4 separate regions of the Homo sapiens genome follow, and all the other regions are linked to region 1. Evidence: promoter capture Hi-C in human tissues and cell types (Jung and others, 2019). All regions are on one chromosome and are shown on one strand. The core of a region is centred on a gene start or on the middle of the fragment in contact, and the rest is flanking DNA. Distances in the headings are between cores, read along the strand shown. Region 1 holds the start of BEGAIN (brain enriched guanylate kinase associated). Region 2 overlaps WDR25 (WD repeat domain 25). Region 3 overlaps WDR25 (WD repeat domain 25). Region 4 overlaps WDR25 (WD repeat domain 25).

Region 1 (6,837 bases), core at 2,370-4,869:
GCCTGACAGGGGCAGAGGCCCAGGGAGGAGGCCACTGCTGCTTCCCATGGAGACAGAGCAGGGCAGGCAGTGGGGTGGAGGCCAAGGGGCTCACAGCACCACCCCAGGAGGAGCAGTGGGCCAGACCCCTGGGCCTGGGACCTGCCTCGGACAGAGCACCTACGAGGCTCCCAGCTGCCTGTGCCCGCTTCCTACGGTCCCAGGCCCCCCTCATCGTTGCTCCCAGGACAAGCAGGTGAAGGAACAGGGCAGCGGGGTACGGTTAGGGTTAGGGCTGGGGTTAGGATTAGGGTTAGGATTTGGTTTGGGATTAGGGTTAGGGTCAGGTTGGGATTAGGCTTAGGTTTGGGGTTGGGATTATGGTTAGGATTTGGGCTAGTGCTTGGGGTGTTTTTGGCAGTGTTTAGTGTTAGGGTTAGGGCTGGGTTGGGGTTTGGTTTAATGTTCCTTTTGGGATTTGGTTTTGGGTTGGCGTCTGGGTTAACTTTAGCGTGTGGTGTGGGTTGAGGTTATTGCTTTCTGGCAGGACAGTGTTGGGGTTAGAGTCGGGTTTAGGGTTCATGTTACTGTTCAGGCTAGCATTGGGGTAGGGTTAAAGTTTGCTTTGGTTTTGGGTCCCATTAGAGTTAGGTTTAGCATTTGATATAGGTTGGAATTTGGGTTAATATTGCAGTTGGGGTCATTGTTAGATACACACTTGGGCCAATTCAGGGCCTTCTCACCACCTGTGGAGGGCAGCTGTAGCCCGATTCTGCAGGGGACTCCAGAGTTTCAGTTGGAGCACCTGTTGTTTGTGGGAGAGTGGGAAGATACCTCTCACCTTCCCATTCTCTAGGGCTCATAGTCAGAACCCTTGCTCAATCTGTTCTTGTGGGTGGGGATTGGAAGATGAGGCAGGGAACTGGTCAGCATGGCTAGCTGATGCTGGAGCCCCTGTATGTGGCTGTCTGCGGGTGCCTCACTGTCAATGACTTCCCTGACGTGCTGTCCTTTCTTTTATACTCAGCCACCAGGGCCAGAAGCCTGGCATCACACCAGGCTATTCCTATCTCCCCCACCTCCATCCATCCATGCATTCTTTGGCACATTTAACCATGAGCCCCAGTGTGGTGCCACTTCCTGCCCTGCTCCCTGACCACAGTAGAGGACCACGCATCCCAGCGGGGAGATTGATGTCCACATCAACAGACAGATCAGATAGCTCTGGAACGCAGTAAGAGACACGCAAAAAACAAAATAGGGCAACGAGATTGAGCCATGGGGATGGTGATGTCAAACAGAGTGGTCCGTAGAGGTCTGAATGAGGGCAGGGGCCTGAGGAGAGGGTCCTCCATGGCCCCAGGGCATCACCTCGAAGTCCTGCCACTTTCATCCCTTCTTCCCAACCCGGCTGAAACCTTGCCTCCTCCAGGAAGCCTGCCTGATGCCCCAGGCTCTGCTGCACTGACTGTAGTTTCCCCATCTGCAAAAAGGGGCTAGTACCACTTCCCCTACAGGGGCATTGCAGGGATGCTCCCAGACCCACAACCAATGCCTGCTTTCTCTCCGCCTTCCTAGCTTAAGGGGGCTGGAGTGGGAAGGATAGAAGAGAGGGCAGGGAGGGTGGGGACGGGAGGTGCGTGCAGCATGGGGGAGGGGCTCTCCTGGGGCCTTCCCAGGCAGGCCTGAGCTGAAGCCTGCAAGCTGCTGGAGCTGAAGCAGGAGCCGCCCCCACCCCACCCGCCCCTCCCCCGCCTCCCCAGCCATCTGTGGCGTTGGCAGCAGCAGTGCCAGGGCGGGCGGTGAACATTCTGGCACCATCTGAGCAGGACCAGCCTCTGGGGAAGGGCCGCAGCCCAGGAGGAGGCAATGTGGGCAGAGCCCTGCCTGTACCCCAGGTTCCACATCCCCCATTGGTGTTTGTCCCCTTAGGGACTGGGGAGGGAAGGGACACTGGAGCTGGCAGGCTGGGCCTCACTACCTCTCACAGGATGCCTCCACTGCTGTGTGCTGCCTGAATGGTGTCTGAACCTGAGAGGCCAGAGTGGAGGTCAGGGAGCCTGTCCCTACTCCTGCTGGGGAGACTAAGGCCCCCTTGAGCAAAGAGGCTGGTCCCGTGGTGCACACCAGCGACGGTTTGGGCGAAGTCTGTCCACGCTTCGCCCAAACTGGGAGAGCCCCGCCCTGAGCTGCCGCCTCTCATTTTGTCTTGACTGTGGTGGGGTGCACTTGGAGGCGCCTCCCTCTGTCCATTGGTTACCCAATCATGTCCCTGGGACCTGAGAGGGAGCAGAGACAGGACTTTGCTTGACACGAAGTGGCTCCAGTCAGCTGCTGGTTCTTTTGCTTGTCTCCTTTTTTTCTGGGTTTCCCCTCTTGCCTTGCTATCAGTGCCTTTTCTCAGCACTGACACTGCCTGAATGTAGCAACCTACTCCCCAGATTAAATGAGAGAGCGTAGAAACTGCAAAGCATACAACATACAGCATATAAGGATGGTGGTGATGGCAGCTCAACAGTGGGAACTCAGTGTCCCCAAACTGTACACTTTAAAAGTGGTTAAAATGGTAAATTTTATGTTTTCCATGTTTTCCACAATTAAAAAACAAAAATATACAAGGTACTCATTCGCAGCATCTTCTAATCTGCCATGTACTTGGAAATGATATAAGCATGTGTGAACCATGAGCCCATAGGTCCCGAGGGAGGATATGAGCGAAGCACACGGGCTTTGCCAGCTCTGTTTCCACCACGCAGGACCCTCCCTGGCTGCCAGTGCTCCTCCCCGGGTTCCCACGCTGGCTGCTGCTGGGCTGGCTGGGATGGAAGACCCTCATGTAGCTGGCACCCTCAGGGCTGCCCCTTGCCCGCTCTGGGAGGAGAGAGGAGGGTTCACGCTGCACCTTTACCAGGGTAGGACTGGCCAGCCTGGGCTCTACCGGGCAGGTCGGTGGGATGCTTCAGACTGGAGGGATAGGCAGGGGGCAACACTGGTCCTCCTGAAGCCACCTTCCCTTCCTGAGAGCTCCTTGGGGAGAAGGCAAGCCCTGGAAGCCACCGACTGGGGGCTCGGGCAGAGCAAGGGCAGGGTAAGGGGCAGCTTGGCCAGGAGGCACCCTTGGGAGCCAGGGTTTCCTCATCTGTAAAATGTGACTCTGCGAGGGCAGGAGCTTGGTTTCACTCGCTACTGTACCCCCTGGGGCCTACAGCAGGGCTGGTTGGTACACACTAGGTGTCTAATAAATGTTGAGGGATTGAATGGATGGACCGATGAAAAGGTTGGGCAGGTCATTACTGACAGCCTCTGGGTTTCAAGGGCCCATTCACTCTGTCACTCACCTTCGCGCCCGTGCATTAGTTCTCTCATTTATTCATTCCCCCCGCCCCCCCAGCCCCGCATGCTCTACCGCACTCATTCATTCACGCGCTCAGCCATTCAAGCTGGCGCGGGTTCATTCATTCCCTGCCCCTCTGCCATTCCTCGCCTGGCCCCCGCGCACGCCGCACCCCCGCGCCCCTGCCCGGCCCTGCGCCCACCACTTGCGCCCCGGCCGGGCGCTGCCGGGAGGACGCGCGGGCTCAGCCGCGGCTGCGCGGGGCCGGGGCTGGCGGGGAGCCGGGCTGGGGGCGGGGGGCGGGCGCTCCCTGCGGGAAGCCGGGCGGGGTGGGGGAGCCCCGGCCGCGCCGGCTCCCGGCGCGCTCGGCCTCGGAGGGGAGGGGGCGGCGGTAGCGGCGGCGGCGGTGAGCGGCGCGGCTGCCCTGGGGCCATGTGGACTGGCGGTCGCCGGCCGGGCCGGCTGCGCCGGGCGGTGAGTACCTGCGAGCCGGGAGGGCAGGGCGCGGGCGCGGGCGCGGAGGCGGGGCGGGCGCCACCCACGCCTGGGGCGGTCCCTGCTCAGCGCGGGAGGTGGCCGGCCCCCCGCCCCGCTCCCCTCCGCGCTGCGCCCCCGCCGTGGAGGCTTCACTGGCCCGGGAGGAGCCGGGCCGGGTCTCCTGGGAACTGGGCACTCTCGGGTGGGGCGGGGATGCCCAGCCTCCGCGCGCCGCCGGGAGCGCCCGGGTCCTATCGCGGGGTCCTTGCGCCCTGACACGCGCGCCCCTGCGGCGGAAGGAAAGGAGGGACGGGTGACCAAGGGCGCGGCCGGAGGACTGGGGACCCGCCGCTGTCCCGGGCGGGTGGCGAGGGTGCGGGCAGGCCTGGACCCGCCTGCGTCTGGGGGCAGGGCCAGCCCCTGCTTGGGAGGCCGGAGAAAGGCCCGGGAGCCGGAAGGAGGCTGGACCCGGGGCCGCCTCATTGAGCGTTTGCAGCGCGTGGGCGCGCACGAACCTCGGACACCACCATCCCATTCAGTACCTCGCGGCAGGTACTATCCTCCTGCCCCTTTACAGGCGAGGAAACTGAGGCTCAGGGAGGCCAGGGCCTCGCCCAGAGCGGCTCAGCCGGCGCGCTCACCCTCCCTGAGCCCCAGCACGTTGGATGGGAATTTCTGCCCCAGCGTTTCCGCTTCCTGCTTGGTTTAGAGGTGTTTCCTTCCTCGTCTGTGCCCCACCCCATCCCCAATGTGGTTTCCTCAGGGCAGGAACAGCGTGGGCGACGCGCTGGAGTCTCCTGAGCCGGCAGAATGGGAGCAGAGTGGGCACCCGGGAGCGGGGCCGGATGGATAGGGAGCACTGCACGTGCAAAGTCCGCATGGCCAAGGTCGGCCGCCAGTGCAGACTGGGGGTCCAGGCCCTGGGGGTATGGGTGGGGCGGGGTCTCCACAGCCAGGCTCCGTCGGAGGCCCCAGTGCTCTGGCTCTCTGGAGGCCATGGACAGGTTCTTTTCCTTCTCTGGACCCTAGTTCCTCTGCCTGCCAAGAGCAGCAGAGACCCCCACTACTCCCAGGGCCAGGCTCCCACGAGGACTGTGGGCAGAAGCCCCTAACAAACTGCGGTGTGCAGCCCTGCCAGGCTGGCCTTGGTCTTGCCAGCAGGGGCAACTGGCCGTTGGGGGTGGCTCTGCCTGGCATCTGTGACACGCAGGGCGGGGAGACGGCAGAGAGGGCCCCAGCAGCATCCTGCAAACCCTTAATTTTCCCGACTCTCACTATAATCAGGGCAGCTTGGAAAAGCAAGCACTGTGGCAGATGCGGCTCTGCCCGGGCTCAGCACACGGGCTCTGGGCGATGGGCGGCTGCGCTGCCGCCAAGGGCCCTCCCCAGCTTTTGTCTCATATTTATAGATTCCAAGGCTCCGCGTTCCGTTTGTCGTCAAAACCTGGAGCTGTTCGCACCTGGGAGCTGAGTGGGGAGGGGAGGGCTGCCTAGAACCTCAGCCTGGAGGATGAGTTTTCCATGCGCTGGGGTGGAGTAGGGGGACACCTGTCAGAGCCCAGGCCTGGAGAGAGGAAATGAGCCCTAAGCAATCTGGAAGATCTTCCATCCACTCTCCCAAGACTTGGGCGCAGGGTCTGGCCCACATAGCTGCCATTTATGGAACGCCTGCTATGTACTGGGCCCTGGATCAGCATTTCCACGCATCATCTCCACGGCAACACTTTGAAGGAGCTTCCCTACTCCTGCAGGCACTCCTGATGCTGAAGAGTGGATGGATGGATGAATGGATGGATGGATGGATGGATGGATGGATGGATGGATGGATGGGAGGGAGGGAGGGATGGATGGGAGGGATGGATGGATGGGAGGGAGGGAGGGAGGGATGGATGGATGGGAGGGAGGGAGGGAGGGATGGATGGGAGGGAGGGAAGGAGGGATGGATGGGAGGGATGGGAGGGATGGATGGATGGGATGGATGGATGGATGGATGGGAGGGAGGGAGGGAGGGAGGGATGGATGGATGGATGGATGGATGGATGGATGGATGGGAGGGATTGACTGAAGCCCATGAGTCCATGGCTATTGGACACAGTCCACAAATCATTACCCAGGGTCCCAGGAGGTGGGGTCCAAGGGCTGAGTAGTTGCTGAACAGATGAAGGGGTCAAGGTGTGTTACAGGAGCCTGGCCCAAGGCCTGAAGGTGATGGGGAGAGTGTAGAGTGTTCAAGTCTCAAGACTTAGAGAGGCTGTGTCCTGCTGGAGTGTGGAAGCCATGGCGGTGGGGAGGTGTGGCTCCTCCCCCTAAGGGAGGTAAGGATCCCTGGGACAGATGGGTGGGTGACCCTAGGACTCGCCGTGTTGGTCTAGAATCACCCCGCATGGTTCTCTTCTGACTCCCCTTCCTGCCGCAGAGCTGGTCGCTAGCCTTAGTGGAGAGGCCTGGACGGAGGTCTGCAGCCCTGGGTTCTGGTTCCTCCTCTGCCGCTGACTCACTGTCTCCTCTCTAGGGCTCCGTATCAGAAGCTTAACACCCATTACAGTCAGGGGAGTGACTTCTGTGGCCTGAGAGCAGGCATCAGATTGTAGCCTGTGGTGGGAGAAGCTGGCCAGAGGTGTCTCTATTGCTTTAATCATTATAGGAATGAATGAATGAATGAATGATGAATGACTAAGTGTGTGAATTCTACACTCACCTAACATGCTGTACCTAAGCACCCACTCTGCACTGCTCATTGGGGTCACTTAGGTGAGTCTGACACAGACCTTGCCCTCCACGAGTCCACAGTTTGCTGGGAGACATGGACCTTGGCCAGTACGGCAGGAGTCAGGAGCTGCTGGGGCTCTTCTCTCCCCTCTAGCCAGGAAGGGAACTCAAAAGTGGCCCTTGCCTCAGCAGGCCTTGAGTCTGGAGGACAGTACAGCAGCCTCTGTGGTCTGCCTGGGGTGGGGATCAGCCAGGGCCCAGCTCTGAGCCAAGCAGGGGAATTGCAGTCATTGGTTCAATCAGCAAGCCCTGAGCCCAAGTCAGGGATGGAGATGGGT
Region 2 (6,837 bases), core at 2,622-5,121, 180 kb after region 1:
CCCACATCCCTCAGAAGTCCCCAAGCCCCCACGACTATAGGCCATTACCATCACCACACTCTCCATCCCAACCCCCGCCCCCAGTGCCTGGTGTGCAGGCATCTGTGCTCTGGCTCTCACAACCCCTCCCCTGTCTCCAGGGCCAGTTCTTGCACCCTCTCCCACTCCCATCAGGATAGGAGTCAAGGGTCATTCCCACAGCTCACTGTGACATATGTGTCTGGGAGCCCAGCACACTCACAGACAATACACGTGAGAGGCAATACACGTGAGAGGCTCCTGAACGGGGACGGGCTACATCTCCAATCCCAGCTCTAATCTCTGGCACCCAGACTCAACCTAGCCAAACTGGGTGTCAGGGCCTGTTTAGGCACTGAAGTGTGAAACTATGGTCCCTGTTCTTAGTAATTGTATGCTTTGGAGGACAGCTGCCTCCCAAACCTGCAGAAACAACATACCCAGAGCGCCAGGGTGCATGTAGTCTACAGGTCTTCCTTGATCTGCATGCCATAAGAAGCCTCCAGCAGCTCCCCTGGAAACGCACCGGCTTCCCACAAGGGCACACTGACAAAGGGGGCAGAAGGGCCTAAAACCATCCATGAGCCCCACACACAACTGCCAGCCCCGTCCAGAACCTGATACCCAACACCCAGAAGGCTGGCCTCACTTAGCTTCAGCCAGACCGACTTTCTAGTCCCCATCTCACCTGAGTTGGGAAGATGGATAGGGCTTTGAATTAAAAGCTTTCCCTCACTGCCTCCTGGACTCTGAGAGGTATGTGAGCCTGAGAGTAAACAGGGGGGTTATTAATGTCAAAGGAGGACAATTACCCCAAAAAATGTGAGCACATCAATAAGAATCTGAAAGCAACTTTTCAGGAATATAGGACACAATGCAAATTAACTGTCTGAGCTCTGAGTATATATCATCACCTAATCTCTCAGAAACTCTCCGGTTACTATTAAGATGTTAACCGCAGGCTCAGCCCAGGCATTGATCTTCTTCTCCTGGAAGGACTTCAGCGACCTTTGTCTTCTGGGCTCAACTCGCTCAACAGCTCCTTGAGGCTGCCCTGGCACGGCGGGGTCCTTCTCACACCTGCAGCCTCGCTCCTGCTCCGCAGCCCTCTGCCCAGAGAGCAATTCTGAATCCCAAGAAGGAAGGAAGAAGGGAATGAAAGGAGAAGGGGGGCCTAGCCACAGATTTACTGCCAAGTCTTTAAACCACATTTCACATCTGCCAACCGCCCTGGGGCCTGCCCCTTATTTTTCTATCCCCATGGTGTGTCTTTCATTCACTCACTCACTCTTTCACAACACAAATGTCTGTCCAGCACCTACTCTGTGTCAGGCAGGAAGTGCAGGGTGTGGCCCTGACCTTGATCAACTCACAATCTGGGCTCCCACAGCTGCACACATGTGACAGGCCGAAGTTCTGAAGAGGCACAGGGAGCAAAATGTGTGAGGCTGAGTAGCGCTGATTCCAGCTCTGCCACTTGGTAGCAATGTGGCCTTGGACTCTGATCATTGGACAAGCCACCTAGGCAGGACTTGGTGCCACTGTCTTGCTGCCATAAGGGCATTCCCCACTCAATTCCTGGCTCTTCACACTAAACAAAGATACTACCATCTTAAGTATCAATTGCTTCAACTGCAAAATGGAGATAAAATGCCTAAAAGTGACTCCTATGAAAACTGAGGCTGTCCGTGTGAAGATCCTGGCACACAGCAAATGCTCGAGTAACAGCAGCACTTTGCTTGAATTGTGCCACTGACTTGCCCTTCATACCCCTCCTGAGTACATAAGAATGGCAAACACACCTGCCTATGCTCCTCAGCCAAACCCACACCATCAATATTCAACAGTCCAACGGGCCTCCGAAGCCGACTGCTCCAGGTCCCAGTGCTGAGACACACATATCAACGTCAGAAGGAAGGCTTTAACCCTCCCTTCTCCATCCTCTGCTTTGAACCTGGGCCCCACGTGCCTGACATGGGCTTCTGAAGCCTCTAAGCCTTGGGGAGCCTGTACCTCTGTCCACCACACATCCCTTCCCACAGCCCTGCTAACCATCTTCTCCGAAGGCAAGCCCATGGAGCACACCTCCATTCTGAGCTGGACCCAGGCCCAAAAGTCAAGAAACGGATTGATTGCATCATCATTTTGAGCCCCATGTAGGCACCTGAGAAACTCAAAAGCCTATGCACAGCCTGGCCCTGTCTCCAAATGGCCAGTTACAGAGAAAAACATCCAGGTGGGTTTCCTCGGGAGTGGCGTTTCTTAAGCACTAATATCCGCCCTTCCCCAAAGAGAACTTAAAGCCAAGGCTCCTCCAAGCCTAATCACTGAGAGCTGCTGCCAGGAAGGGCGACTGACACACCAATCCATGCGCCACAGAGCTAGGCCCTGCAGGCCACCCACCTCCCGATGGCCAGCTCTGCTTCTGCCCTTGCATGTTTCTGTTAGTGCTGGCCTCCAAGCAGGCTCCCAAACAAAAACAAAAGCAGAGTGCAGCCCAAAATGAGATTATAGTGAAGACATATAACAGAGTTACTGATCCTCCAGGGGGCCCAGCCTCCCTCCCCATCCCCTGCACCCCAGCCCCATCCTAGGCCCCAGGGTGCCTATAAGATGGGGCAGAGAGGCCAGGCATGGTGGCTCATGCCTGTAATCCCAGCACTTTGGGAGGCTGAGGCGGGTGGATCACCTGAGGTCGGGAGTTGGAGACCAGCCTGGCCTACATGGACAAACCCCGTCTCTACTAAAAATACAAAATTAGCCAGGCGTGGTGGTGCATGCCTGTAATCCCAGCTACTCAGGAGGCTGAGGCAGGAGAATCCTTTGAACCCGGGAGGCAGAGGCTGCGGTGAGCTGAGATCATACCATTGCACTCCAGCCTGGGTAACAAGAGCAAAACTCCATCTCAAAAAAAAAAGATGGGGCAGAGAGAGGATTCCTAGGCCCCTGAGCTCAGCATCCTTGTTGAAGCTTTGCCCAAGACTTAGGCTCCTGGTTTGGCTGCCAGCTGCCACCTTCCACAGATAAAAAATTCAATTCTGAGAATGAGGGGGTGAGACTGGAAGAAGCCTCTGAGGTGGGGGCAAGAGGACAGACAGATTCTGCGAGCACAGGAAAGACAGAACTAGCATGGGGACACAAGGTAGGAGGGTTAAGAGGAAGGGCCCAAACACACCAGTGCCAAGTTCAGACAATGATACAAGGAATAACCATGTCACTCACAGGAGGGATGGGCCCAGCAGAGGCCAGAGCTGCAGGGGAGAGGGGTGCATGCCCCCATGTAACAGCAGAAGGAGAATGCAGGCAGGAGGAGGGAGGGGTGTATACTTGGCATTTCAGAGTCAGGATCATGGCCCTAGAGAAACAGAGTCAGGTCAGCATCTCCCAGTCAGCAGACTGAACTGGGACAGAACATTTGCACACACAGTGAGCCCCATGGGAACGCCAGGCCTCCAGCGGACCCTATGCCTGGGAGGAAGCACTACAGAGATAAGGATGCATTTGCACTTCCCCCAAGGGCCTGCTGACCCTCCTGGCCCACGCAGCCCACAGGTAGGGGCCCCTGTTTCCCAGCCAGGAACACCAGAGGGGTGTGCGCTCTGCCTCCCATGGTGGTAAGGTCAAGGTGAAAACCACATGAGAAATGACACTGTCAGTGGTAAACCCAGCTTTTGAGACCAGGCCCTCACTGCCATGAATAACACTGATTCTACAGGAAAATGAGAACCCAGGTTCCAAACATCTGCTTTACACTTACGGGCTGGCGTGGGAGAGTGGAACGAACATAGACTTTGGGAGCAAACAGCCCTGGACTCCATTCCCAGCTCCGCACCTTGCAGCACCGTGCCCTGAGGCCCTCTCAGCCCCAGGTCCTTGGACGCAGGTTGGGGCATGCCATCGGCACCTCAGAGGTTTCAGGGGGACCAATCATGTGCGTATGGGGCCCAGCACTGGGCTGGACACATGGTAGGATCTCAGCAAATGGGAGTTCTAATTGCTACCAAAAGTGAATGTCAGGGAGCAGCCACCTTGAGCTCTTGTGATACTGGGTACAGCCCATGATAAAGTCCACACCAACATTGCCTCATTCTACTCAAGGCACTTCATCAGGCAGGCCAGAACCCAGGCAAACAGGAATTAACTTAATGCTCTGTTTGGCAGTACTTTCCCTGGGTCCATCATCCATTCTTATTCCCCGGAAGCTGCCAGCCAAGCAAACTGGAATATTGATCACTGCAATCATCTCGATGGAAGTCTGAGGGCCAAGCACTTCATGTGCATTTCAATTAGAAGAGTGGGCCTGTCATTCTAATTCTGCCTCATTCCAGCCAGCTTCACTCTAAGCAACAAACGGGCTCCTAAAAAGTTGAGTTCATCAGCAATCTATTAATGGAATCACACCTCCACACTGATTTTACATTATCATTGCCAAATGATACATATTCATTTTCCATCTTCAAAGGAACCAGAGTTGCTGTATCTGTGCTAAGCTCTGGGCACTACTCAGGGCTGCTATCTCCTGACCATACACAACAGCCCTGCGGGCTAAGCATGCCAGCACCACTTTACAAGAAACAGTGGGGGAGAAGCAGAGGACCTTCCCCAGACCTAGGGTAGAAAGAGCCATGGCTCAAACACAAATCTGCCCAGTTCCTTCCCAGGAGTCCCAACGATCCCAATAATTCCAAAGGCTTTTGCCTCCAATTCACTCTCCCAACATTTGGCCATATGTGCTTTGGTTGGAAAGGCAGCCAGGTCATTCTAATTCAAGGCAGCCCAGGCCCGCTTTGCTTCCCACGGCAAGGCTGATGCTCCCTAGGATCCAGAGATGAGCCAGATGTGGCCTCTCCAGATCCAGAGCATGGGAGCACGACTCATTTTTCTCTGTACATCAAATACCAATTTGTATTTCTATTCTTAAAAAATCAGTTTTCAAAGAAATAAAGAAGAATGGTCTCTTCCCCGAGAGGAAGCTTACTTGGTAGAAAGGATAGGACACTATCCATAAGAGAAAATTTAATTCACCCCAACAACCATTTGTTGGACACTGCTAATACAGAAGCCCTGAGGTCAGCGAGACAGGGTCAAGAACGTAATGAAGCTCAGCTGTCAACCCCTCAGAGAGGGCTGGACCCTCAGGAGGACAACCTAAGGGTGTCCTCCTAGCAGATCTCCCTAAGTGCTGGCTGGCTGCACGGGTCTCATCCCTATGGCATTTTATTTCGTGCCCCTGGCTCTGCTCCACGGTGGTCACGAGGTGTTAGTAATTTCTCTGCTTAATGACTTCCTCTGGAGCTCACAGGGAGAGAAAACCGATTCAGAATCATGAATGCTCATTTCAACTACTCTGCAGGAAGAGTTTGGGGGACACCTGTAATTCTCTCATTACCTCATTTAGCTACAGTTAGTTTGGAGATCACAAAACTACTCAGCTTAAAAGGGCCTCAGAGAACACAGTTGAGCCTCTATGTTTGCCAAGAGAGGAAACCAACACCCAGAAATTGCCTGGCCTGCCGAGGGCTCAGCTGGAAAATGACAGAACCCCATTTGGACCCCTGGCCCCTGGCTGACAGCGCATCACTCTGTCCACCCCCATGTCCCACCTGTCTTGTTCCTGCCTATGACAATAACCTTGCAAAAGAACGAGTCACTCCTAGCCCAGATCATGCCTTTAAAGCCAAGGGAATTTTTTGATTTTTTGGTTTTGTTTTTTTTTTTTAGGAGAAAGCAATAACAAAGAAAAGTGGGGGAGTGTGTCTTAAATAAAGATTGTCCCTCTGACGTGCTGGATGGAAAGCTTTTGGGTGTGAGCTTTATGATTATACCGAGGTAATAATGGACGTCACATATCAGGAGAGAAGATGTCACTACCTTTTGACAGAGGACACTTGGGAAGAAAAAGTTACAAACAGAAAGCTTTCCCTTTACCTTCTGAGGGGTAGAATAATAATTCACCTGAATTGTCAAGATCTGTTCCAGGAGCATTTGTGCAATAAAGAAAGGTTCAGAAAACCTCCTGTGCCATTATGGGCATTCATGGGAGTAGCAGTAATAACTGGGTTTTAAAAGCCTCGCACGATTGAGCAAAAGTGCTTTGCAGCACTTCCTACTCCTTCATCAGCACCTGCTAATGCCAGTTGTACCCCAGGAGGTGCACCAAGGAGAATGTAACTGAGCCCCTCCAAAGTGTCCATGCTAAAAATCACATCCAAGCCCTCAAATTCCACAGAGAAAATGGCAAGTGCCTGCATACACAGAATGAGCAGAACTAAGACACGTGCAGAGCCACCCAGGAGCAGAGAAGCCAGGTGCAAGTTCCAGGGGATGAAGTGTCCTCCCCACTGCCTCTCAGGCTCTCTGGTACTTTTCCATTCCTCTGTATGAATATGTTTTTCTTCCTTTAGGATCAGAAACAAAGTAAAAAGAAGCCCAAAAAAGAAAAATGTCAACCAACAAATTCTCTCTGTAATTCTCTTACTACCACCAGAACCTGCTGGTACAAAGCACTGGGGAGGAAGAAGTGATCAATCCCCAGGCAGGGGAGCCTCCTGGAGGGGATCCAACCTGAGGCAGCCCTGAACGGCAAGGACTTGCCTCCTGGGGACATGGGCAGGGTGCTCAGGGCCACCCCTGCCAAGGAAGTCTAAGACACCGGGGAGGAGGCAGGGGACCAGCCTCCACGACACTCAGACCTCAATGGACAGAACTGGTCTGAGATGCCCGAATCAACCAGAGAAGGTGATAAGCAAGGAAATGCCTAATGAGGCAGTGCAAGGGGGATAGATGTGGACTGAGACCACGAGGAGGCCGGCAGAAGCA
Region 3 (6,837 bases), core at 3,216-5,715, 170 kb after region 1:
CGGGTTCTGTCCCGGGTATCTTTCCCCATCAAACATATTTCACAGTCTAGGGGAAGGAGTAGAAAGAGCAGGGGCTTTGGAATATAGCAAATGTAGGTCCAAATCCTAGCCTCCCTAATTTTTAGCTCTGCAACCTATGGCAACATTTGTATATCCACCCAACAGCTACTCCTGGGTGTGTGCCACCCCTGTGCTGGGCACTGGAATGAGTCAGTGCAAGTGACAGCCCTGCCCCGTTACAGCTTAGGCCCATGGGGTGACAGGATGTGCACATTAAGGGAGGTAGGATGGAGAAGGGCTGACACAACCAGCCTCCAAGGACCCAGGACCCACATCAAGGAAGAGGAACTTGATCCTGAGCCCTGCAGGCCATGGGGCCAGCAAGGGACACACCCAGGTGCACAGTTTTTAGAAAAATCCTGGCTGCCTGGGGGCATGAAGGGGAGGCAGGGGAGAACATTTCTGAGGCTGCTGCACTTGTCTTGGCAAGATATGATGGTAGCCTGGGCCAGGAAGGTGTGGATGAAGAGAGAAACAGACAGACCCAAGAGATGCTTCATGGGGAAGCCACGAGCTGTGTGACTGACAGGCCTGAGCCACCAAGCAGGAAGTGGGATATTATGCCAGGAGGGGCAGGGCAACAGGAGCACATGTCCTGGGAAAGGCATCACCTTGTTGAGCCTGAGTTTCCTTGTCAGTGGAATGGAATGATCAAACTTACTCTGCTAGACTACAAGGTGCCTGGCAGAAGCTGGTCCATAGTAGGTGGTCACGGCTGCCACTGCTGCTGAAAGGAACCCTGAGATCAGCCTAACCACCGAATCGCACCAAGATTCTAGGAAACCAAGACACCAGGGCAGGAAGGGCTGGTCCCAGAACCTGGGCTCTACATCCCCAGGCCCAAGACATTCCCACGCAAACACTGGACAGGCAGCAGGGCCCTGGGCCCCAGACTCCACAGGCAGTTAAACCCCTTGGCTGAGCACAGGCATGTCACACCTGGTGTGGGGCCTGCTCCCAGGTCCCAATCTCATGCCATTTTGTTCCTCTTGATACAAGAAAGCCCTGGGGTCAGTGGCGGGTCCCCAGTAGCAAAGGATTGTCCTGCTAACTCTTAACATGCAAACAAGGTCTGAGGTTTAATTAGGATAACAGGTGCTGATGTTTGTTTACACGGGATGCAAACTGTGAGGCTGTGAACAGTCTGTCATGGAAACAGAGGCTAATGCCCTGCTCCTTGTTAGACTTCTGCTGGCACCTAGAACATGGTGTGAAAACGCCACAGGCTCTGAAACTCAGCTCCCTGGAAGTAGTGTGGGCATCGAAGTGCCTGGGCTCAGGAACACTCACCCAGCCAGCCTGGGAGGCCTCGCCCGTGGTGCCTTCCTCCCCTTAAAACAACAGGTAATGAATGCCTTGTTTATACCCAATCTGGTTGGTACAGGGAGGCCCTGCGAGATGGCCTGTGGCACACCTGGCTGTCCCCACTGTTCTGAGGGGCAACACGTGTCATCTGCCTCCCTGGGACCAGCACCAAGCCCATCCTGGGCAGCTGTGCCACCTGAGACTCCTGGAGTGGCCCGTGCCCCATCATAAGGTATGGACAGCAGTGCCCAGTGATGTTTTCAGGACACGCTGCACCCACACAATCCAGAAAAGTAGCCCCTCAAGATGTAGATGCTGCTTCCTGAGTGCCTGCAAAAGACCTGGGCTGACTCAGTGCACAGACAAGATCTCATTTCCGCAGCACAGGCTCTGGTTCTCAACACAGATAAGAATCCAAACACCCCTTAGGAGGGAAGCAGAGAAGATAATGTTCTCCAGCACGCTGCAAATAGTGTTCAGAGTGTTCAGATGGAACCAGATTAAATTAAAAGTAGTCAAAAGTTCCGTTTTCGAGGAAATTCATCATAAAATTCTTGATCTGACATGGCTATTTTCCAGATGTTTTTGAGTGACGTCAGCAGGTTACCTTGATAATTATAATAACCGAACATTTTGAATTATTTGGTTCAACACGTTTCCTAAACACTCCCCAATGCCAGCCTTTGTGCCAGGATCTGAAGGGACTTTCCTCTACAACCTCACAGTACGATCGGAATAAGGTGTGTCTGACTAATTGGGTGCTATGTGGCCCAAGGAGGAAGCCCACAGCCAGCCCGTGGGTCCAGGTATGCCCACACTGGGGCCTGCCAACCACCGACAGCTTCCATCCTCAGTGGCATTCTCCACAGAAGCTTCATGCACACGCTATTATAACAGGGGAGATCAGGCTGGGGGAAATCAGTACCAGAAGTAATTAAATGACCAAGGAGACAGCAAGAGCTGGAAGAGAGACACATATTGGCACAATTTCTTATTACTATTATTGTAATAACACATACCAAGAACAGGGCTCCCAGACAAAGAGAAAGCAAGCTTCAGGGCATTTTTAAATTGGGCAAATTATAGAGAGGTGAGAGATTAAATGAAAATCTATCACATTACAAATACAGCCTGCAGTTACTGAAATCATATTTTTTTCATAAATGAGTCATACCAACAGTAACTCCAAGACCTTCATAATAGTTTGCAATAAACTCTGTGGGACGCTCGCCACTTCAATCCTGAAAAATTGACATCATAAGCCAAAAAATAGCACTTTGACGTTTCTGTCTTCTTTAGGGCACCCAGCTGGGAAAGGAAATAAAACACCACCCCCAGGATGGAGCACAGGGCCTGGCCTCGCCAGTGGGCAGGCAAATTAAAACAATAAGATCCTATTTCACACCCACCAGAGGGGCAAAAAATCAAAATCCCTAACAGCAAATGATGGAGAGGGTGTGAAGAAATGGGAACGCTCAGTACGCTGGTGGGCGTCCACGGAACAAATACTCAGGAGGGGAAGCTGGCAACATGTGGTCGCGTCAAAGAGGGCCATCATGAAGGCCCGTCAAGTCACCATGAGGGGTCCCAGCCCCAGAAGCTTTCACAGGGGTGTACAAGGATGTACATCTATAAATGCCAGTATGAAAACAGGTCTACCAACTCTGTGAGGCTCGTCCCATTGAAGGTGGAGTCCAATCTCCCTTGCCCTGAATGGGAGGCAGCCTCAGTGACTTGCTTCCAAAGAACAGAATGAAGTCAACAGATGCTGCCTGCCTTTGAGGCTGGGTCACAGAGCAATCTGGTTTCAGTATAGGGGCCTCTCAGAACACTAGCCCCTAGAACCCAGCTGCCATGGGATGAGGAAGCCCAGACCACATGGAGAGGCCACATGTAATACTCCAGCAAACAGCACAGCCAGGGTCCCAGCAGACAGCCAGAATCACTCATCGGATGCTGAGCGAACAGACCTGCAGATGCTTCCATTTCTAGCCTTTGAGCTGCCCCACATGATACCAAGTGGAGCAGAGATGAGCTGCCCACACCAAGCCCTGCCCAAACTGCAGATTCAGAAGCAAAATAAACATTATTGTTTTAAGCTACTAAGTTTAGAGGTGGCTTATTAAACAGCAATAAAAAACTGGAACACATGTTCACTACAATATTGTATGCAAGAGACAAAAAGTAAAAACAACCTTCCAGGAGTAGGAGAATGAGTAAATAAACTTGAGCTTATTTATACAGTGGAATCCCACACACCAATGAAAATTGAATGAACCAGATGGATAGATGGATGGATGGATAGAGAGATAACAGAAAACATAATGTTGACTGTTTTGCAAATTGCAAAAAACCACAGAGTGTAATAACATGTACATAAACCTTTAAAATACAAAAGTATTACATATTATTTATGTCATTCATAACATATGCAGGAAACATTTAAAAGCATGCCCACCAACGTCAGGGGAGTGGCCACTAATGGAAAGGGAATGAAGTAGGGTTTTAGCTCTATCTGCCATATTTCATTCCTTACAAAACAAAAAAGAGGTACCCAGTATAAATACGGAAAAATGCTAATAACTAAAACCTGGTGGTGCATCTATGGAAGTTTATTTTATTTTTTTGTTCTTTTCTGTAGGATTAACATAGGTCACAAATCACTCATTTCTACTCAGCCAAGGTTAAGCTTGGTTGACACAAGGGTAACAGTGTGATAGGGCAGGGGTAAGTCAGCCTGCTTCCTCCCCTCTTCTGTGAGCTTCCCAAAGGCCACGACTGTGGCTCACAACCCCCTGCTGCATATGGTAAGTGCTCAATAAACCTCCCTTTGCAAGACTGACTGGGGGACCAATAAGCCCAGGAAGATTCTGTCCCCTTCTCTGGTTCATAGGAATCAAGGAGAGAGCAAAGGATATTTTCTAACCCAAGGGACTCTGTGAACTTGAAACACAGGGATGAAAGACTATCCCATTAATAAGAAAGAGGAGCTCTTTCCTAGTCCTGATGCCTACTCTTCCTCTTCTCTGTCTGGACACTGTTAAAATTCCAGTTTTGGCCGAATGGAATGTCACAAACACAGGCAGTTGCAGACGAGGGACATGCAGGAAAAATAATCATATTTCTTCTTATAATGACCCAAATGCAGGAGATACACTGTTTCAGCAGACAGAAATAAAAAGACTCATCCAGCCAGAGGTAAGAAAGGAAGACTGAGATGAGGAAAGCATAGCATAGACAAAGGCCAGCAACATCCAGGACAGTGGGACAGAAAGATGCAAACAGCCAGGGTCGCTCACAGCATGGCTTCACCTGGGTCCAGCCCTGGACTCTCTCTCAAGTCTCCTGTTCCCTGAGACAAACGAGTCTCTCTCCACCTGTTGAAGCCACTCGAGTTGGGTTTCCTGTTATCTGCAGCCTCATACACTCCTAGCTAATACAGTGGTGAACACCACATCATGGGACAGCTGGGCATCTTTATTTTCCTTTTTCTACCTTTTTCTGTTCTTCAAATATTATTACTATAAGAAGATTTTAATATATTTTTAAAAAGTTATTCTTAGTCTTGGCTAGCAATTCCAACCCTAGCAATAGAGTCTAAGAAACTAACTGCACAGAAGCTAAATATTATGTACATAAAGATGATCACTGCAGCACTGCCTATAAAACAACAATAAAAAACCTGCTGGAATAAAAAGCTCAATGTTCAGCAACAGGGATACAACTAGCAAATTGTGGTACAACCACATGATAGAAGATGACTATCCTGAAGGCTGTAAAAACAGGGATACTGAGCTTTAAAAACAGGATCCAAAATGATATATGAAAAATCCCTATAGAACGATAAAAAAAAAATGTGCTTACAAGTGAAAGGTAAAACACAAACCAAAAGTTACTTGCTGTGGGCCTGGAGGTCCAAGCCAGTGGAGGGAAGTGGGGGAAGGGGTTGCCAGGGCCTGCGGCCCATGTGCAGATGGGGGCTGTGGAGGCAGTGAAGGCCTCCTTGCCCAGGAGACAGTAGCTTCCAGGCTTCCAGATGCCCCTGGAGATCCAGGCAACTAGGCCTTGTGAGGGGCCTACAGGGTGGGAGGCTGCTCATAGCCACAGTTACAGACTGACCACCAGGTGGGCCCTGCGAGCACCCGTTCACTCCCAGGTCCACTCTCACACAAGCCCAAGGCAATGGGGCAACCTGATACAAAGAACCCAGGGGAAATTCCACATCATGTGCCCCTGCATACCAAATTCTTTAGAAAAGACAATTTCCCATTAATTTCAAATGTGCGTGTTCTCTGGGGATTTAATACAGGGGGAGTTTCTAAGCATTTGCATCTCTGTCCCATAATATAAAGCATGGGCCAGGGGCATGAACTGCCTGTGTTCACAACATCATCCTATTTGTGACAGATTAGATAGATTAGACGCGAGGTTCCACCTTCCTACCTGTGATCTTTCTCTGCTATAAAAACAACTCTTGATGTCAGTGTCTGAAATTACTTGCTCAAAATTATAATTATTATATTAATGTGGCTAACTGTAAAACTATACCTCGGCTTTCTAAATGAAAACACCAGGCTGCCAAAACTTCTAGAATAATTTAAACTAGTAATGTGATAAAGACTATTACATCTCCAAAGACATTACCATAGAATTTTCCCCCCATCTCAACAAGAAAAGATGCTGGACTATATTGGAAGCCTCTGTGAATTGCCTAATTATAGTTAATAAGGTCATCATCTGCTCATGAAATAGCCTTTTCTGTTTTCCAACAGAGCATTCAACAATTCTAAACACTGTTCATCTGAACACTCCCCGAGAAAGCTATCACATCACAGGGTAGACAGCAGGAGAAGGAAGAAAGAGGTAGGCGGAAGGAGCGAGGCCCCAGGAAGCCGCAGAGAGACCCCTGTGGAGACGGGAAATAAATTTTTTTTTTTTTTTTTTTTGTGATGGAGTCTTGTTCTGTCGCCCAGGCTGGAGTGCAGTGGCGTGATCTCGGCTCACTGCAATCTCCGCCTCCAGAGTTCAAGCAATTGTCCTGCCTCAGCCTCCCAAGTAGCTGTGATTACAGGTGTGCACCACCACACCTAGCTAATTTTTTTTGTATTTTTAGTAGAGATGGGGTTTCCCCATGTTCGCCAGACTGGTCTCAAACTCCTGACATCAGGTGATCGCCCACCTTGGACTCCCAAAGTGCTAGGATTACAGGCGTGAGCCACCACGCCCGGCCTAGAAATAGAACTTACTTAGAGCCCATCATTTCAAGGCCAGGGTCTCAGGTGAGACAATGGGAGTCACAGGAATTGTGGGTGTAGGGACCACTCCACACCCCTGCCTGGCAACCTGAGTCCAATGCCAGGTCCCTCCCGGAGTAGGTGTGGCGTGAGTAGGACCCCCCCCCGCCACCGCCACCCCAAACTCCCAGGGATGTCCCATAAACTCACCTTAGCATAGACCCTGACCGTTGTGGCT
Region 4 (6,837 bases), core at 3,184-5,683, 140 kb after region 1:
CCTGAGCCCAGGAAGTCAAGGCTGCAGTAAGCCATGATTGCACCACTGCACTCCAGCCTGGGTGACAAAGTGAGACCTCGTCTCAAAAAAAAAAAAAAAAGAATGCTTTGGCGAATGAACGCTGGCTCCTGGCAAGCATGTCTGTCTTTTAATCCTGCAAGGCCATGAATTCTACTGCCTGCCTGGCGTCTATTTTCTCTTTCTCTAGTATAAGCGTCCCTCCCCGACTCAGTCACTATGGTACATGGGGCTTCCAAAACTACCTTTTTTCACTCTTGGAAAATGGGTTTTCCACTTGGGCACCTCTAGTCTCCCAGCTCCCTCCCATTCTCTGTAATTTCTCAGCACTCTCTTGTGGACCCGCACAGCTGGAACCCGAGGTCTAAAGCCTGAGCTGCTTTGACGTTGTTAGGTGCTCTTTCACACCTGCCCCACCTGTAGGGACTGTGAAGTGCTTTTGGGGTTGCATGTCACATCTTTCCTCAAGCCACAGGCCTCTTCCCTCCTCAGTGTGCTTAATCTGCACACAGTAAGAGGGGCTCTGGACTGCTCCTACTCTCTTATCCTAAGACATACTCCCTCTCTCAATAACTGCGGGGAAGAAGAGGTTGTGACCTGGTTAGAATGAGTAGTAATAATGTTATACCTTTATTTTTGTGCATCACTTTCCACATTCATGTGCCCCTCACACAAGCCCACAAGGTTGTCAGGGAAACTGTCATCTCCATTTTACAGATGGGCAAAGAGAGGCTTAGAGTGACTGAGTGACTCTCATTCACTCGCTGGGTTTGTTCAACAGATATTTATGCCAGTCTGCTATCTGCCAAGAAATTTGCTCACTGCTGGAACTGCTAGAGAACAAAATAGCTCATGAGAGTCTAGTGGAAGAGAAAGATATTAAGCAACAAACAGCTCTTCTCACTCAGATCAGTGCTGTGAAGAACAGAACTGGCTCTAGGAGATGACAATAGCAGGTGGAACAGATTCACCTTGATTTCCACTGGGGAGGTCAGCAGGCTTCTCCAGAGGAAGGGGTGAGGTGGGGAGGGCCTGAGCAAGGCATAGTCACACAGCCTGGGGGACTGGCGGCCAGTGTGGCTGGAGCCCTATGTGAAGGAGGAGAGCAACAAGAGTGGGCAAAACGCAGGTCACCCAGGGCTCAGCAGACACTTGCAAAAGTTTGGAATTTTTCCCTCCATGTAAAATGGATGGTTTTTTAAGCATTGGAGCAAAGTGATAAGCAGATTTTTGTTTTTAAAGAGCATACCAGCTGCTATAGGAAAGGCCAGAATAACACAAGGAGACAAGTGAAGAGGGTGCGCAGAGGGGAGAGAGCAGGCCTGGGCCGCCGGACTGTGGACGCACTGAATGCCCAGTTTAGAGAAGAATCACTGGGACTTACAGGTGGATTAGAGGGGAGTGAGGCAGAAGGGGAGCAGGGGAGAAGGCAGGGTGTCGTGGCACATGGCGTAACAGCAGGAGACAGCCCCCTTCTGATCACACCATAGCAGAGGCAGGGAGAGCCAGAACCTGGGACGTCTCATCCTATGACCGCATGATGGTGCCACCTCTACAAGTGAGGGGAGGCGTCACCTAAGCCAGGACAAGGAGCTGCGTTAAAATCACTCTGTCTGCTTCATGCACGTGCAGGGACTCAGGGATGCTCTCAGCAGTTACTGAGTGGGGGCTCCTGGAAGCATCACCTGATTTAGTTTTAATGGCCTCCAACTTAATTCCTTCTGAAGGCCCAGTCTGGGTGGAGGCAGAGTGTCCTGGCTGTCATACATAGCCATGTCCCAGGGCACAGGCCTCCTGACCTCAGCTTTTCCAGAGACCCAGCTGAGACAGCCTCTCCCACCCCAATGCAACAGCCAGCCAGGGCAGGGCCCCGGAATAGAGGTGACCACTCTCAGAAAGTCAGGTTGCTCATGTCCTGCTGCCATGGCAACCGCCACAGGCCAGTGCCAGGCTGTCTCTGCTCCCAAAGGAGGCCTCCCGGGGCAGCCCTGTAGCCAGGCTCCAACAGGCCCATACCATTATCGAAGCCACGGTTCTCCCTGGCCCTCCCTGATGGGGCTGGGATGGAAGTGATCGTTTTCATCAAGATTTCTCAATTTGCATAAAAATGAGTACTAACCCTTTGCTCCAAAAATTCCATCCAGAAGCCCAGTAAAGGATGCTCTCCGAGCCTTCTAGCCATAAGGCCTTATCTTGCCAAGCACATCCCAAGGGCTTAGGGGGTTGTAAACAGCTACAGTGGGAAAGTCAGTGGCTGACTCCGGAGGCCCCACTCACCTGCCCAGCCTCATCTCCCATCACGATCGTCCTTGCACGCCACTTTCTAGGTGCGTTTCCCAAACTCACTCTGTTCCTTGAACCTCCAGCCTTACATATGCCTTCTCTCTGTTTGAAGTACATTCCTCTGTCTCCACCTGGTTGGCTCCTACTCTTCTCTCCTGTCTCCCATGAGACACTCCTTCCGCCAGGAAGCCCTCCTGACTCCCATAAGCCAAGTTAAGGTCCAGTGGATGTTCCCATAGGTCTCCATGCAGCTAGGTAGGCTGCGTTGTTTTTCCACCTCCAGTCATTGCCCTGTTCTTTTATGTGTAATGTTTTCCTGGTTGTGAAAGAAACAATGCATTTTTATAATGACCCCATCACCACCACAAGGCTATGGTTTATCTAGACTGCCACATGCCCACATTGCCAGGTGTTTACGCAGGTGACGGAGTCCTGGCAGTGACCCTCACTCCTCTGAGATAGTGTAACTGGGCCACTATACAGATGAAGAGACTAGGGCTCCCAGTAGGAAGGAAGTTGCCCAAGGTTACAGGACAAGCAAGTTAGCAGGCCCATGACTCACGGCCAGCATGCATGTGCTTCTCTTTCTGGGGCGCTTCTCACCTGGGGCCCAGGTGTCACCACCCTGGGCAACGGGTAAGATGCTGAAAAGGAACAGAGGGGACACTGGATCTAATCCTTGCACTCAAGCACAGGTAAGCCCTGCAACCTGCTGGCAGTTTCCACAGTATTTTTCTATGCAGACATTGTTTCTCCTGAGATCCTACTGAATGTACAATCTGGCATCCTGCTTTCTTCACTTAACATTTTCCAATGTTCCTAAAATCTTCTTTTTTTTTTTTTTTTTTTGAGACGGAGTTTTGCTCGTTTTCCAGGCTGGAGTGCAATGGCACGATCTCGGCTCACCACAACCTCCACCTCCCTGGTTCAAGTGATTCTCCTGCCTCAGCCTCCAGAGTAGCTGGGATTACAGGCAAATGCCACCACGCCTGGCTAATTTTTTGTATTTTCAGCAGAGACAAGGTTTCTCCATGTTGGTCAGGCTGGTCTCGAACTCCCGACCTCAGGTGATTCACCCACCTCGGCCTCCCAAAGTGCTGGGATTACAGGCGTGAGCCACCACGCCCAGCCCATTTTTTTTTAAAGTGCAGTTACTCATCACTTTCCAAAGAAAAGAGCACAGATTTGGCAGGGGCCTTGAACTTGACCATTTTTCCCTGGTGCCAATAGCTCTACGCACACAGCAAGAGGATTTAACAGCCTGATTCAGCACGGTGGGAAGGAGTAAATTGCTTAAGTCTGGGAAATACATTACCTCAATCTCGCAAATGGTTTTTGAAAATCATTAGGCCACAGAAGTGTAATTCTGTAGGCCTGGCTTTTGCTGCCTCCCCCACCCTGCTCAATACCACCCACCTCACCATGTCTGGTGCCACCAAACAGAGCACTCAAGTCTGGGTGGCAGCTGGCTGAGCCCCTTGCCCCAGATTACCCCAACCTCCCTCCCAAAAGACAAGTAAAATGTGACCTCAGGCTCCCCAGTCTGTTCAAGCCAGAGACCGGAAGAGAGCTGCAGACACGTGGCAAAGAGCAGCCCCTCCTCCACTGCAAGGCTGGCACGCCCACGCCTCAGCACACGTGCCCCCCTACTGCCCAGCACTGCTGCTAACTCGTGGGAAGTTGTCTTTGTGGGCTCCAGGTTGGTGTCCAAAATTAAAATCGTTGTAGATTTATGGGTCTCCAGTCCATTTCTGAGAAACAATCCCCAAGTCTAATCACTTCTAAAAAAGTCACCTAAGGACAAATGGAACAGCTTCCAGTAGGCTCCAGTTCACTCAACACTGCTCAGCATCCAAGCTCACGCGCAAACCTGGGGTTCTTTTGGGTTGAATATGCAAGGTTCCCTAACAAACTGTACTTAGAATGCATTAGCTGTTATTATAAATGGAGCCCAGAAATTTTCTAATAGCGTTGAATTAGTCTGTATAATTACATTACTTCAATGAGCATGAAATTATCTTACCTATTAAAGTTTAACAAGTGATTCTAAAGGATTAAGAAGAATCATGTGATGGGATAATAATGATGACTCCGTAGCACTTAGTCAAGGATTTCTGTGGCCACAGACGATAATTTTCAGAAGCTGCTTGGCCATGTAACTAACAGCCAGGAATCCCTGCATCCATGCGGTGCTGACAGCAGCAAGAACTCACAGGGTTAGGACATAACCACGCCCACAGAGCCAGGAGTGACCAGCGACACCTGCCCAGATCACAGAAGCCCCTCTATCGTTGGCTGATCTGCCTGTCACTCCTCCTCATTCTTACTCACAAGCTTTCAGACACAGCGTGTGGCTTCTGATATTTCTAAGAAACAACACAACTGCTGATTAATTTCAAGCTGCTGTTTTTGAAGTGAATTATGATTGGTATTGTGTTACTTACCATGTGTTGTGATTTATACATTTTTACTTTTTTTTTTTTTTTTTTTTTGAGATGGAGTCTTCCTCTGTCACCCAGGCTAGAGTGCAGTGGCATGATCTCAGCTCACTGCAACCTCTGCCTCCCAGGTTCAAGTGATTCTCCTGCCACAGCCTCCCAAGTAGCTGGGATTACAGGCACCCACCACCATGCCTGGCTAATTTTTGTATTTTTAGTAGATGGCCTAACCATGTGGGCCAGGCTGGTCTCAAACTCCTGACCTCAAGTGATCCACCTGCCTTGGCCTCCCAAAGTGCTAGGATTACAGGCATGAGCCACCACGACCAGCCCATTTTTACTAATTCTGATCATCAACATCAACAATGCTACTTGTCATGGCTCTGTGTCACTTGTGACCACCACCGCAGGACCCCAGGGGCAGGAGCTCACAAAGCCAGAAGGCTCCTCCTCTATACTCCAACTGAGCTTCATGGCTACCCTTCCCCACCACGCCAGGAGGAAGGTGGAGCACAGCACTGAAACAGTCAGGGGGTATAATATCTGGGGCAAACACCAAACTCAGCAGTTAACCCAAAGGCTTGGGGTCATCCTGGGTTGAACCCTCTTTTCATCTACCAGGATGGCCAGCCTCAGATCCTTTACCTCAACACTGGTATGGCCGGGCCTCGCCCCGTGTCTTCTTGGAGGGGCAGCATGGGTTGGAATCACAGGGTTCTAAACCCCAACTACTTCTTCCAACTGTGGTGGAAATGGGCTCTGAAAGGATGGCCGATGCCTGAGTCAGGGTAGAACAAAGGTTCTTTCTAGCCTGGTCCTTATTCTCCCAGACGCTTCCAAACACGTTCTGTGCCCACCTCCTCCTACAGGGAGGTCGGAAGCTAAATGAAGCAACCTGGGGGTTTCAGAACAAAAGCCTGGAAACTTCCTACTAAAATCCAAAGACAGGAAGCCTAGAAGCCATCCTGTCCCCGTCTCAGCCCTGGCAACAAGGAGGCTTTGATTCACCTCTCAGGCCCCTGAGTCACATGGCTGCAGCAGGTCTTTCCTTCTCCACTCCCAGCCTGCAGCCTATGCAGCTTCTCAGTCTTCTTTTCACCTTTACAAAAGGATGTTTTGAAACCCTTGGTGTGAGTTTTATGATAAACTAGTTTAAAATATTTTTTGGAAGTTGTGGAGTAAATTATAGAAAAAGACCAACAAAGCTAAGGCTCTGAGGCAAAATTTTATTACCACCTTGAAGGAGTTCAGCATCATTTTTCTTCCAGTAAACATGTAAATCTGGTGTCCAAAACAACACAAGTTACTTTATTCCATGGCTTATTTGCATGATTTTTAATGACAAACAGTAATAAAGTGTAACCGAATCCCCTAATCTTAAATTCATCCAGACTTTGCTGCAGAGAAATGCATTGATAATAAATTCTAAAGTTTTGTCTGAGAACTCATAGGGTAAAACTCTGAGGTTGCTGGGAGATGTGAACAGAGTGAGTGAGAGGGTGCCTGGTGGGGATATGGGGTGACAGCAAGAACACAGAGGCCCAGTTCCATGGGGGACTTCAGGGTCAGACACCCCTGAATCCTAACTCTGTTCTGCCCCTTCAATCCATGTGGCCTGGGTAAATGACCATTGTCTCTGAGCTTTCATTTCAACAGCTAGAAAACGGGGCTAATCTTCCCACTTTCCAGAGTGGTGGGGAAGCTTAAAGGGAATTAAAGTGACGAAGTAGAAGGTGCCACAGAAGGCACTATCAACTTTGGTTCTTCTCCTGTCCCTCACTGCCTGCTGCCAAGAGAGCGCAGTGTCGGTACACACCAGGCTCAAGTCCCTAAGGACGTGAGGAGGACGATGAGCTGTTTCGCCGCTGCCTCCTTCTAGACACAGCCCTCCAGATGAGCCACTAGTACTGTGAATGCACCAACCATCCACCCTCTGTATAGTCCCAGGGGCCTGAAACCAAAGGCCCAACCCAGAACTTCTGCAGGCCACGGAGGGGCATCAGAGGCACTTCATCTGCCAGGTACGGTGGGGCCTGGGGCCTGGGGCCTGGGGCCAGTGCAAGAAGGAAGTCACCTGGACCCAGACGTGTCCATGGAA

The links. Contacts are between HindIII fragments. The study calls those that stand out against the background at their distance.
Region 2: a contact is called between a fragment that was not itself captured here and the fragment with the promoter of BEGAIN in region 1, in 2 of the 25 tissues and cell types used here (mesendoderm cells and spleen).
Region 3: a contact is called between a fragment that was not itself captured here and the fragment with the promoter of BEGAIN in region 1, in 4 of the 25 tissues and cell types used here (dorsolateral prefrontal cortex, mesendoderm cells, spleen and 1 more).
Region 4: a fragment that was not itself captured here is called in contact with the fragment with the promoter of BEGAIN in region 1 in 2 of the 25 tissues and cell types used here (dorsolateral prefrontal cortex and spleen).

What each region holds. Positions count from the first base shown.
Region 1 is chr14:100,584,199-100,591,035 of GRCh38, reverse strand. BEGAIN (brain enriched guanylate kinase associated) reads left to right here and starts at 3,619. Exons shown (of 7, transcript NM_001385089.1): 1 at 3,619-3,787. The coding sequence starts at 3,746. The HindIII fragment of the contact is 7,942 bases long and covers 1-6,837 here.
Region 2 is chr14:100,401,267-100,408,103 of GRCh38, reverse strand. All of the region lies in intron 2 of WDR25 (WD repeat domain 25), which reads right to left. LOC105370664 (a long non-coding RNA gene) reads right to left here and starts at 1,146. Exons shown (of 2, transcript XR_944204.3): 1 at 459-1,146. RefSeq lists an enhancer at 3,713-4,214. The HindIII fragment of the contact is 4,009 bases long and covers 1,867-5,875 here.
Region 3 is chr14:100,418,696-100,425,532 of GRCh38, reverse strand. The region is part of intron 2 of WDR25 (WD repeat domain 25); the gene reads right to left. Among named protein-coding and RNA genes, the nearest start is that of WDR25, 46 kb to the right of the region's middle. RefSeq lists enhancers at 4,902-5,401, 5,402-5,903. The HindIII fragment of the contact is 3,546 bases long and covers 2,693-6,238 here.
Region 4 is chr14:100,444,507-100,451,343 of GRCh38, reverse strand. The region is part of intron 2 of WDR25 (WD repeat domain 25); the gene reads right to left. Among named protein-coding and RNA genes, the nearest start is that of WDR25, 71 kb to the right of the region's middle. RefSeq lists an enhancer at 3,386-3,886. The HindIII fragment of the contact is 5,305 bases long and covers 1,781-6,837 here.